3 separate regions of the Homo sapiens genome follow, and regions 2 and 3 are each linked to region 1. Evidence: promoter capture Hi-C in 16 types of primary human blood cells and fetal thymus (Javierre and others, 2016). All regions are on one chromosome and are shown on one strand. The core of a region is centred on a gene start or on the middle of the fragment in contact, and the rest is flanking DNA. Distances in the headings are between cores, read along the strand shown.

What was found. Contacts are between HindIII fragments. The CHiCAGO score rates a contact against its expected background, and 5 or more counts as called.
Region 2: a fragment that was not itself captured here is called in contact with the fragment with the promoter of ROPN1B in region 1 in 1 of 17 cell types (monocytes); the score reaches 5.8 in monocytes.
Region 3: a fragment that was not itself captured here is called in contact with the fragment with the promoter of ROPN1B in region 1 in 1 of 17 cell types (total CD8 T cells); the score reaches 5.8 in total CD8 T cells.

Annotation. Positions count from the first base shown.
Region 1 is chr3:125,967,283-125,970,755 of GRCh38, reverse strand. ROPN1B (rhophilin associated tail protein 1B) reads right to left here and starts at 1,578. Exons shown (of 7, transcript NM_001308313.2): 1 at 1,356-1,578. It also overlaps the pseudogene ALG1L1P. The HindIII fragment of the contact is 3,412 bases long and covers 1-3,038 here.
Region 2 is chr3:126,390,249-126,393,885 of GRCh38, reverse strand. It overlaps LOC107986044 (a long non-coding RNA gene), which reads left to right and starts at 1,638. Exons shown (of 3, transcript XR_001740563.1): 1 at 1,638-1,703. CFAP100-DT (CFAP100 divergent transcript) reads left to right here. Exons shown (of 2, transcript NR_103789.1): 2 at 593-854. The HindIII fragment of the contact is 2,070 bases long and covers 1,149-3,218 here.
Region 3 is chr3:126,469,254-126,473,259 of GRCh38, reverse strand. It overlaps ZXDC (ZXD family zinc finger C), which reads left to right. Exons shown (of 10, transcript NM_025112.5): 2 at 955-1,107; 3 at 1,209-1,287; 4 at 2,235-2,365. Among named protein-coding and RNA genes, the nearest start is that of ZXDC, 4.6 kb to the left of the region's middle. The HindIII fragment of the contact is 321 bases long and covers 1,583-1,903 here.

The DNA.
Region 1 (3,473 bases), core at 329-2,828:
AAAAGGATGATAAAATAATGATTAATTTTAGACTTTGCAAAGTATTAGAAAAGTTTTAACAGTAATAACCACTAAATCTGTACAGAGGAAAAAAGGATTTTTTAAAATTTTTTTAGTATTTATTGATCATTCTTGGGTGTTTCTCGGAGAGGGGGGAAGAAAGGAATTTTTAAAAAACACAAAAAAGCAAACAAAACATGCCTCCCAATGTGAAATGGCAGCCCAACGTATACCTGCCAAGTGCTGAAGAATGTAGGTCTTAAAATAGACTGTATAGTCTTGTTTCAGGGATTTCTCACTTGTTTTTATTGGTATGGGCTAAACAGGGCTTCCATTTCATAAATGAAAGTCTCCATTACATGAATGAAAGGCTCCAGGGCAGAATCTCAGAGGGTTTCTATGAGCGGCTTGGAACCAAGCACAGACAACTGCACATCCCTGTTTGGGTTCGGAATTGGAGGTGGTGGGTTTGGGATGTGGTTACTCTTGTTTGGAATGCATTCTCCTCCTCTTAACAGGTTGATTCTTCCTTTGGAGGTCTGCTTAACCTTCCCTGATTACCCTGTCAGTTCCATTGTACATACCCTTCCAGAGCATCACTTACCTATCCTTAGTGTGATTCTTTGAGTAACATGTGTCTCCCCCAGCAAACTCCACGGCAGGACTGGTCAGTTTTTGCTCACCACACCATCCCAGTGCCTAGCCCAGTGCCTGGAACTTAGTGTTCAATAGGTACTAGTAAAAATGAATGCGTGATAGCAGTCTATGAAGTGCTAGCTATAAAATGAACACGTGATAGGAGTCTATGAAGTGCTAGGTATAAAATAATGCGTGATAGGAGTCTATGAAGTGCTAGGTATAAAATAATATGTGATAGGAGTCTATGAAGTGCCAGGTATAAAATAATGCCTGACAGGAGTCTATGAAGTGCTAGGTATAAAATAATGTGTGATAGGAGTCTATGAAGTGCTAGGTATGCCCATTGGTCCACATGACAATTCACCCAGAGGTATTTTTATATCCCTGTCGCTGATGAAAAAGCAGAGGTGTGGCTCCTCGGTGGAGGGCTCTGATTCCAAACTCTTGAGCCTCCCAACCACTGTCCTCCGGGTAAGAAACCGTATAATAGTATTCTGGGTACAAAATACGCACACAAATTGGCCAGAAAGCCATAATCCCCCACAGTCACATTCTCTTGAAGATCCCCTTGCCTTCCCCTTGCCCTCCCCTTGCCCTGTGAACAAGGAGAGGCTCAGAATCCAGGGGGCGTCCGGCAGGGCTCCTCCCTCAGACCAGCGCAGCCCTCGGGGCGCTCAGAGCCCTGCCCTCCCTCCACTTCCCCTCGGGGTGGCTACCTCAGGCTCGCTCCCAAACCGGCTGTCTGGCTTCAGGCGACACCTGGCGCCTGGCCTCAGGCGAGAGGTGTGGGGAGAGACCGAGTGCCTCCCACCCTTCTTAAGAAGGAGAGCAGTAGAACCTCGGCGGGGAGGGCAGCAGCGGCCGGGGGTGACAGCAGCGGCGGGGCACGACCGCCGTTAGCGTTAGACGTTAGCGCTCCGCCTTCGCCTGGCAAACCCTGCGCGGGCTCCGCTGCCAGGTCACCAGGGGTAGCGCCGGGCGCGACGTCACAGAGCCGCCCCGCCTCTCCTGCAGCGGCGGGTTCCCAGGGTCCCGCTAGGGCGCTGCTAGGGGACGCTGAAAGCTGTTTTGGGCTTTGCTGGTGGTGGAAGGACCAGACGGCCTGGAGGGTTAAGGACTGGGCTGGGGACGTTAGGAAACCCGGGCTGGGGGCGTTGGGGGTGGGGCGGAATGTGTAGCCATTGACGGTGCGCTTTTGTAGGTGAGAGGGCAGAAGTGGAGCTTGATCTTTCGGCTTGTGGAAAGTGGACAGGTGAGAATTCCTCAGGAATCATAGCAACAACACCTCTTACAATGCGTTTTTGGTGCCAGGAATTGTTCTAAGTGCATTACACACATGAACTCATTTCATCCTTACTGTCACCCCATGAGGCAAGTACTATTGTTATCCCCATTTTTACAGATGAGGGAACTGAGCACAGAGAGGTTAAACTTGTCCAAGATGACAGTCAGCAAGTGACAGAGTCAGGATCTGAATCTGGGTTGCGTGGTCCCAGATTCCTCACTCTTGACCTTATAATGCTAAGAAAGGGGCATGGAGTGGATAGGAACAGAGCCTGAGATGCCTGGGGACAACAGGGAAAGATAGAAAATATTTATAGGGTAGAATGTGGTCACTGTGCCAGGGCACTTTTACAAACATGATGACATCAAAGTTTCACAGTAAACTCTGAAGGTAGATATTACCTTCGTTTTAGAAAACAGGCTCAAGGCTTCGAGTAATTTTGCCTGTGATCAAACAGCTGGCAGTAGGGCCCAGGGCCCAACTTGTCTCCAGGTCTTCTGATTTCAAGACTGTTGTTTTTGTTTTGTTTTGTTTTGCTTTGCTTTGTTTTGAGACAGAGTCTCACTCTGTTGCCCAGGTTGGAATGCAATGGGGTAATCATGACTCACTGCAGCCTCAATCTCCTAGGTCTAAGCAATCCTCCCACCTCAGCCTCCCAAGTAGCTGAGACTACAGGTGTGTGCCACCACACCAGGCTAATTTTTATATTTTTATAAACAGGGTTTTGCCGTGTTGCCCAGGCTGGTCTTGAACCCCTGGGCTCAAGTGATCCACCCCCCCTTGGTCACCCAAAGCACTGGGATTACAGGTGTGAGCCACCGCACCTGGCCTCAAGACTGTTCTTTTTAAGCACCCAAAGAGGCAAGAAAAGCCCCATCTTTCTCTGCTACACCCCGTGTCACTTCACACCCATATGAAAGCTGCTCATTGCATCATGTAATCCTTCAGTCCATTTATACTACAGTGTGTATTAGTCTAAATCAATTAATTCACCCAGGGTCTTCAGAGCTTTCTCTGGTTGTGAGATGAAAGCCTTTGTCTCTCCCTAAAGCAATTTTAAGCATCAGTGAACAAGTGGGGGAACTAGATTTTTGGCTTATGCATGCAGAAAGCTTTTCACAGCCTGTTGTCATCCATTTGTAAAGAGGCCACTCTGCTGGCATTTGTCAAAATCCTGCAGGTCCTTGCACACCTGGAGAATCCTGGATGGTCTGGGGACGGCCACTGCCCACAGGGCAAGATCTGGGGATGAAAGAAACCTAGTCACTAGCTATCACCTATCTTTCTGAGGCCTCTGTGGAGGGGCTACCAGGTGTTGGTACAGGCACCTGACCAACAGAGTGTGCCTTAGGTTGGGAGGGGGAGGCTGGAGGCTTGAGGGCTGCAGGTGCATCTTCCAGGATAACAAGAATGCTCTGGCCACTGGAGTCTGTTCTGTTGTATGCACATGAGATGAAGGTGTGCCAATCTCTTCCTGCTTTCATGCTGAGTAAATAATACTGACAGGAATGAATAATAATGATCTTTGTGCAGAAGAACAGGTTTTTCA
Region 2 (3,637 bases), core at 934-3,433, 420 kb before region 1:
ATCCCTGAATCTTCGCTGGTAGAATAGTGTCCCAACTTGCAATATCCACAGTGGGCTTTGCACAAGGGAGGAAGAATGTTGTATTGTGTTAAGCCACATATGTGATTTGTGCATGTGTGCATGTGCACATGTGTGCACATGTAGTGTGTGTGTGTGCATGTGTGCACGTGTGTGTTCGTTACAGCTGCTATTGTCAAATGTGCTGAAAGACAAGTTGTCCCTTTACCCTTAGGAGAGAGGCTCCTTACACTGACATTCAAAGTCCTCAATGACCCGGCCCCAGCCTACCTCTGCAGCCTTATCTCCCTACAAACCATCAAAGCAGAACAAAAACCTGTCCCTCCGATTTAGGTTTTAGCAAACCACAAGAAGCACTTCATAAACTGGTGACTCAAGTAGAAAAGTAAGTGTTTTTGTAATGGTTTATCTAAATACAAGGTGCTCTAATGAGACTTTTAGGAAGCTAGAACATAAGTGACCCAAAGAGAACAAAGGTACCCAGGCTCCTGCCCATTCATTGTCATCAACAGATCAGTTTATGAACAGTCGTGAATCTCCCCATGAACCTTACAGAGTGTTTTCTATGTGCCAGGTACTGTTCCACGCACTTGACACCAATCCACCCATTTCACCTGCATGATCACCCTGCCTTTGCATGAGTTGCCGGTGTGGACAGAGCAGGGACACAGTGAGACAGCGGATTCCAGCTTTGCTCTTACCTAGAACACACTGCCTCTCACCAGGAATCGTCCTTCCATTTTATGCAGTTATCCCAGACAATGATGCACAAGCTTTGGGAAAAAAACCCCACAAGTCCAAAGGTGTACTTCATAATAAAGGCAAGTTATCTGTCAGTTTGTGTGTTCTGGCCTTTGTTTTTGCTCTTGGTAGCTTACAAGGTTAGAAAGAAAACCACCTAGAAAACGTGACCTGATTTGGAACTTTTAGTCTTAGCCTAACAGGTCTAACTAGAAATACCATTTGCTGATTAAAAGCTAATTTTTAAAATCAGATGCATGATTGGTGGAGCAATGGTGGCTGGCTGGCTGTGTGGTGAATCGTAGTGGCCTGTGAGCTGTCCAGCCCAGGCAGTGGGCATGTGGATGTCTGCTTCAAAATCCTTCCAACATTTCTGTATGTTTGAAGCTTGAAAATGTTCATAATCAAACATTTTGGGAAAAGCTAACAATCTTCTTAAAGGAGAAATTCGTATTTCAGATTTCGTATTTTCCTCCTCAAAGAAGGTATATCAGTCTGGGCTCTCGGGAATAAACAACAGAAAGCAACTATAGCCACTTGGGGGAGAAAAGGACATGGGGGTGCCCCCAGACTCTGTAGGACGATAGGGAATCAAGCTGGGAGATGCTGTAGCCTGGAGCGGAGCCCAAAGCCATCGCAGGCGCGTTCTGGCAGAGAACATGCTGTGATCCGAAGTCTGCTATGCACTCCTGACCGGTAGGCAGCACCTGGATCGCCTGCCTGCACCTCCCGCCTTCCACACAAGATCTTTGGCTTCTGCCGTGGGAGGAGGGACTCAGAAACCAGGGGGGTCAGGAGTAGTCCTGTACCCAGACAGGGTATTCAGAGGTCTACCAGAACGACAAAGCCTGAGAGAGCAGCTTGTATTTCTTTCCTGCAGCACCTGGTCTCACCGTTGTTCTACAGCACAGCAGGCCAGGCTGGATTGGAGAGTCACCTTCAAGGTAAAATGCCTTAGATGCCCAGATCTCTCACATGGGGGTTTTCCTTTTGCTGAGAGGTGGTAGGTTATGGAGAATGACAGCCATGTCTACCGTGCTTCACGGTGAGTCAAGGGCTTTCCACAGGGAGGGCAGTGATATGAGCTCTTTGCACTACTTACACTGACCTAGGAGCCCCTGCATGGGTTGTGGCCTGCAGGACCATGTTTCAGGGGAAAGCTGCAAAGTCCTTAAAGAGTGTCTGAAGCCCCATCCCCCCTCCCTCTCTGGGAACGTGTCCCCAACCAGTGCCTGCCAGGTGCTCTAGCCTGGCATGCTTTTTATATTTTGTGAGCAATCACATTAATCAGATTGCTTTCCTGCCAGCTCAGATGGATGGATAATTTGATTGGAGTCTAGGAAAAAACAGGGATGACTTTTGGCATCCACATCCCAGGCATATCACATTTGACCACAGTGTCAGAGAAACAGTGCTAGTGGAATAAAAAAGAAGGTCTTGGAGCCCAGAGTAAGACTGGGCTCATATGTGGTCACAAGAGACCACATATCCTATGAAGGCGCCTAGATGGAATTGGGGAAACAGGCAAATGGGCAGTGGTGGCTAATGGAGATGGGATTTTGCTCTTTAGGGTGATGAAAGTGTTCTAAAATTAGACTATGGTGAACATTAGATTTACTCTGAATATAGTAAAATGCACTTTAAGTGGGTGAAGTTTAGATATGTAAATTATATCTCAATAAATATTTTCAAAAGGAGAAGAAGAAAGGGGTCCACATTGCCAAGTGCTCTTGAGTGGCCAAGTGAGAGGGACTGAAGAGTGTTCATTGGATTTGCCAACAAATCGGTTGACCTTGGTGTGAGCAGTTTCAGGATCTCCTGGGGGACTGAGATGGATGGGTGACGAGGAAGAGGAGAAAGTGCCCTGGACAGCACTTTTGAGGGTCCTGGCAGTGGCTCTATCTTGCTCCCTTATGGGTGTGCAGACCCACAGTGGGCCTGGAGAAATGACCCTGGTCTTCCCTGCAGCTCTGGTGGAGGCTAGGTCATTAAAGCCAGACCCCCAGTGCCACAGTTCAGAAGGCAGGATGCTGGGGCATGCAGCATGGCAGGTGAGAAAACTGCATGGCACTGGCCTGGTTCCCAGGTGTGCTCCTGGGCGTGGTCTCCACAGGTGGGGGTGGGGTGCAGGTCCCAGGTGGTTAGGGGACTGTGGTCAGCCAGCCAGGAAGAGGGGTTGAGACTAGACCAGGTTGTGGGCGTAGAGGAAATGAAAGAGACATACAGAGAGAGAGAGAGACAGAGAGAGAGTGTGTGTAGAGGCAGAAGGCAAGCTGGAGGGACCATGGTGCTGAGGAGGCTAGGGTGGGATCCAGATACAGGAGGAAGGGTAGGAGATGTGAGCATCAGGGGTGCTCCCCGGGAGGGCGTGATTTAGCCCCAGGAGCCCGGGGAAGGTAGTCTTTACACTAGTTTCAGGTATCATTTAGGTTGTATTTTGCTTCAAGAAACAGAAAGCTTCACCAGAAATGACTTACAAAGAAACTTCTCATGAGTAGCCCCTCAGAACACCTCTCCTCATATCTTAGCCAAAAAACTGCATGCCTAAACTAATCGCTGCCAGGGATAGAAGCTGGGGACTCTGTGGGAGGCCCCATCCCGGTGCCATAGGGCTGGTGCCTGGACGGCATCCGTTGTGTTAGGGAAAGGGATGGGGGGATCTGAATGGATTCTGGCTTGGCCATAGCACCCACTCCATGACATCCCCACCCAGGTGTCTGCAAGCCCTGAGGTAGGCAGCTCGCTCTGGGTTCCCTCGTCATCTAGCCCAGGAGCGCCGCTCTCCAGCGGATGCCTGGGGAAACCGCGTATGTGCACATACACCGAAAACTATGTCTGCGAGGCGAGATTATGGCTGATTATTTTTTTCCTATTGCTC
Region 3 (4,006 bases), core at 494-2,993, 500 kb before region 1:
GGGGGTTCTTGCCAAGGCAGAGAGAGTCTGTGTTCAGATTTACATGACCAAGTGTGTGAACACACCGAAGCCCAAAATACCCTGGAGGTATTTTGGGACCAGATTGAGGCCAAAGATCAGCATTTCTGAGTTAGATGTTGCTGGGGAAAGTAGGGTTCCTTGGGCTGATACTTTTGGGCAGTGCTATGCCATGTACATCTGTGTGGCAGTTCATAGGCATGATAGTATCTCGTTAAAGGCTCCAAGAGGAGCTGCAGCAAAGACTCCTGTTAAACATCCTGCAGCCTCATGTTTTCCACCCTGTTGGAGCCCTGAATGTTTCTGTCGGAGGAGAAGTATTGCTGTGGAATTGTTGAGGCTTAGCTGCTTTGGCCAGGGGTTAGGATTGAGGTGAAGATTACAAAGCAGGGAACCTAAGGAAATTGCGAAAGGAAAAAGAATCCAAACAGCAAGGGACAGGGCTGGCAGTTGGAGGGTGTCAGGGAGGAAATTTGGATATGTAGAGGATGCAGCATCACCCCCAAGGGGTGAAAAATCCTGGCTAGTAGGATGATTTGTAGCCTTTCAAAGATCAACCCTACCAGACAAAATCTTGTTCCTTAGTATTTGATTTCTCTCATGGGGTTCTTGGGTCTCAGTGTGTGTGCAGGATCAGTGCTCCGGAGCCGGCCAGTAGATGGCTGTGAACGGAGGACTTTCTCTTTATCGGTTGCTCCATCTCCAAGTCATGTTGCAACAGGTGGCCAGCGTGTGCCTATTGGCTGCCATTAGCTGCCTTCCTGTGGTGATCACAAAGCCAAGCATTAATGGTCTTCCCTTTTTAGAGAGTGCTTCTGAGTCATGTTTTCCCTTGTCTGCTTCAGTGTGAACAGGGTCTGGTGGGTGTGACTAGCATTAGCTATGTTGTATAATTTTTGCCACGCTTTGAGCAGGGTTTGTGTTTTCCTTGTTCAGGCTGTGAGAAGACATTTATCACAGTGAGTGCCCTGTTTTCCCATAACCGAGCCCACTTCAGGGAACAAGAGCTCTTTTCCTGCTCCTTTCCTGGGTGCAGCAAGCAGTATGATAAAGCCTGTCGGCTGAAAATTCACCTGCGGAGCCATACAGGTAATGAGCTAGGGAACGCACAGCATTTGGACCCAAGATTTGTCTTCATCGTAGCTGTTGGAGTTGTAAATTTTATGCTGTATAATTTTTTCTTTTATAAGGTGAAAGACCATTTATTTGTGACTCTGACAGCTGTGGCTGGACCTTCACCAGCATGTCCAAACTTCTAAGGCACAGAAGGTAATCCTTACATTTTGGTTTGCATTATCAGGTTTGAAAATGAGTGGTTTGTCAGCAGCAGAAACCAATGAATGAAATATCTGTAGACATTTTTTAAGTTGTTAAAAAAGGAGCTCAGTGTTGATGATTTGGAAAATTCAGAAAACTGTAAAAAGAAAATTGCTCAGAATCTCATCACCTGAAGTCAGTTTTTTCTGTGTATACTTTTTTTAAAAAAAGCTAAATTGGCATACTCTGTTCTTAAAAAAAAAACAATTCCAGGTTTTTTTTTTAACTTAACATTGTAGAATAAGCTTTCTTCATGTAATTACAAGTTTTCATGGTGGTAATGACAACCCTGGAGACTGTGTCCAGGTGACACTCAGCACTTTACATGTGTGTCTTCTACCTTCCCAACAACCTCAAAGCTAATGTTCTTATTCTCCCTGTTTTACAGTGAGACTCGGAGAGATTCAGTGGTTTTTCTGTACTTGCACAGCTGGGCTCTGAGGATTTAATATAAAAATGTCACTTAGGAAAAGACACAGTCTTTACAAGTTGGCTTAAGAGAGTCCTTTTGGCATTGCAGCTGATGCTCTGTGCACATTTCTCACGACCGTCTGTCGCTCGGAAAGCTTGTTGATCATTGGGGTTTCTAAACAATAGAAACACCTTCATCAATACATTTGGGACTCCACTGTTCTTAGATTAGCTTATATTAGATTGAAGTAGCATTAATTGTTTGATGTGTGACTCTGGGGTCAGCTTAGTCATTAAAGTAGAATTTTTATGGGGTAGCTAAATTGCAAATCTGCTCACATGGATTAAAGACAGAATTAAGATTTTCCGAAATGTACTGATCATTTTTGTAAATGCAAAGTTTGTGTTTTGGTATGTTTTGTAGAATTTTAAAGAATTATGGTGAGTTGTGTGAGGAATCACAGCTCCTTTATTTTTCTGTCTGGCAGGAAACATGACGATGACCGGAGGTTTACCTGCCCTGTCGAGGGCTGTGGGAAATCATTCACCAGAGCAGAGCATCTGAAAGGCCACAGCATAACCCACCTAGGCACAAAGCCGTTCGAGTGTCCTGTGGAAGGTAGATTTTAAAACATTGCTTTGAGCAGTAAACTAAGTGCAATGCCAACATTTATCCTGTTAAGTTTCCGTTGTTTAAAGGTAAATGTTAGCTGCTTAAAGACTGACTCAATATAAGTTGCAGCATTATGTTTACTTACCTCATTGAGTTAATTGTACTATTTTGGGAGCAGTGACTTGAGAATCAGACGCAGTTTGACTCATGGCCCTGATCCTCATTAGATCTGTGGCTCTAGTTAAGTTACCTGTTTAATTTGGTGGTCGTGAGGATTAGGTGAAATGTGGAAAATGCCTGTTTATCCATCTGGCATGGAGCTCGGACTCAGTAAATGGTAGGTACTTTTGAGATCACGTTTGAATTGTCACTCCAATCATTTTGTAATTGGAGAGCAGTAAAGCTAGACTGACTTTTTCTTTTTTTGTTTAATTTTTGAGACAGTCTTGCTCTGTCACCCAGGCTGGATGCAATGGTGTGATCTTGGCTCATTGCAACCTCTGCCTCCCAGGTTTAAGTGATTCTTATGCCTCAGCCTTCTGAGTAGCTGGGACTACAGGCGTATGCCACCACGCTTGGCTGATTTTTATGCTTTTAGTAGAGACAGGGTTTCACCATGTTGGCCAGGATGGTCTCAAACTCCTGACGTCAAGTGATCCACCCACTTTGGCCTCCCAAAGTGCTGGGATTACAGGTGTGAGCCACCACGCCCAACCTGACTTTTTAAAAGGTATAGTAGAGTGGTTTTTTCCTTTAAAACACTGAAGGCTCAGTTCATTTGCCAGAAATTGGCTGCGTGACCTGTGCGTGACTTGTGCGTGCTGGCCCTACTCTAGTTCTGCAGGTGCACTGGGAGGCAGTGAGCCAGGACACGTCGGGTGGTCATGGATTCAAAGTCTGGCTCTACCGCTCCCTAAAGTGGTGGCCTCAGTCAAGCTGCTTCTCTGGGCCTTGGTTTCCTTACCTGGAAGAGAGAATAATAAAGACCCATTTAAAGCTGAGCCTAGCTCTTAGAACATAATGAACATATATACAAGTGGTGTAACTGAGAAACAGTTCCTCCTTCCGTCAGAGTTTCAGCTGGAGGTGCAGACAGGGGAACAGGTAACATGTAGGGTGCTGCAGGGGCGCAGAGAGTTTCCCCAGACCGGGGTGAGAACGGCCTCGCGGTCAGCTGAAGAAGAGGGGAGAGCACCAGACACGTGCGTGTGGGTGTTGGAGGCGGAGTGGCCTGGGAGAGCCTCTCAGGGCCAGGAGTGGCAGGCTTGAGTGCTTGGGTGAGCGTATGATGTCATCATGTTTGAGTTGTGGCTTAGCCTGGCTTCAGGATTGAAAGCAGCCAGGGGTGTGGGGAGGTGGGATGGCCTGGACGGGGGCCTTAACAGTGGGAAAAGAGAAAGGGGCATCAATAGCAGAGGTGGGAGTTAGAAGTCACAGTATATGGTGATGGATTTGGATTTTAGTTGATGTCAGTGTGTCAGCTGAGTGGATTTGGAGGAAGCAGAGTTTGGTTTGGACATGTTGTGTTTTTGGTACCCTTGTGCGTCTAATGCGCAGAGGGCAGGGGATGTGCCACTGGTGCTGGGGAGAGCAGGCCAGGCAGGGAGCGAAGCAGACAGCACCCGAATCATCATTTAAGCCACAAAA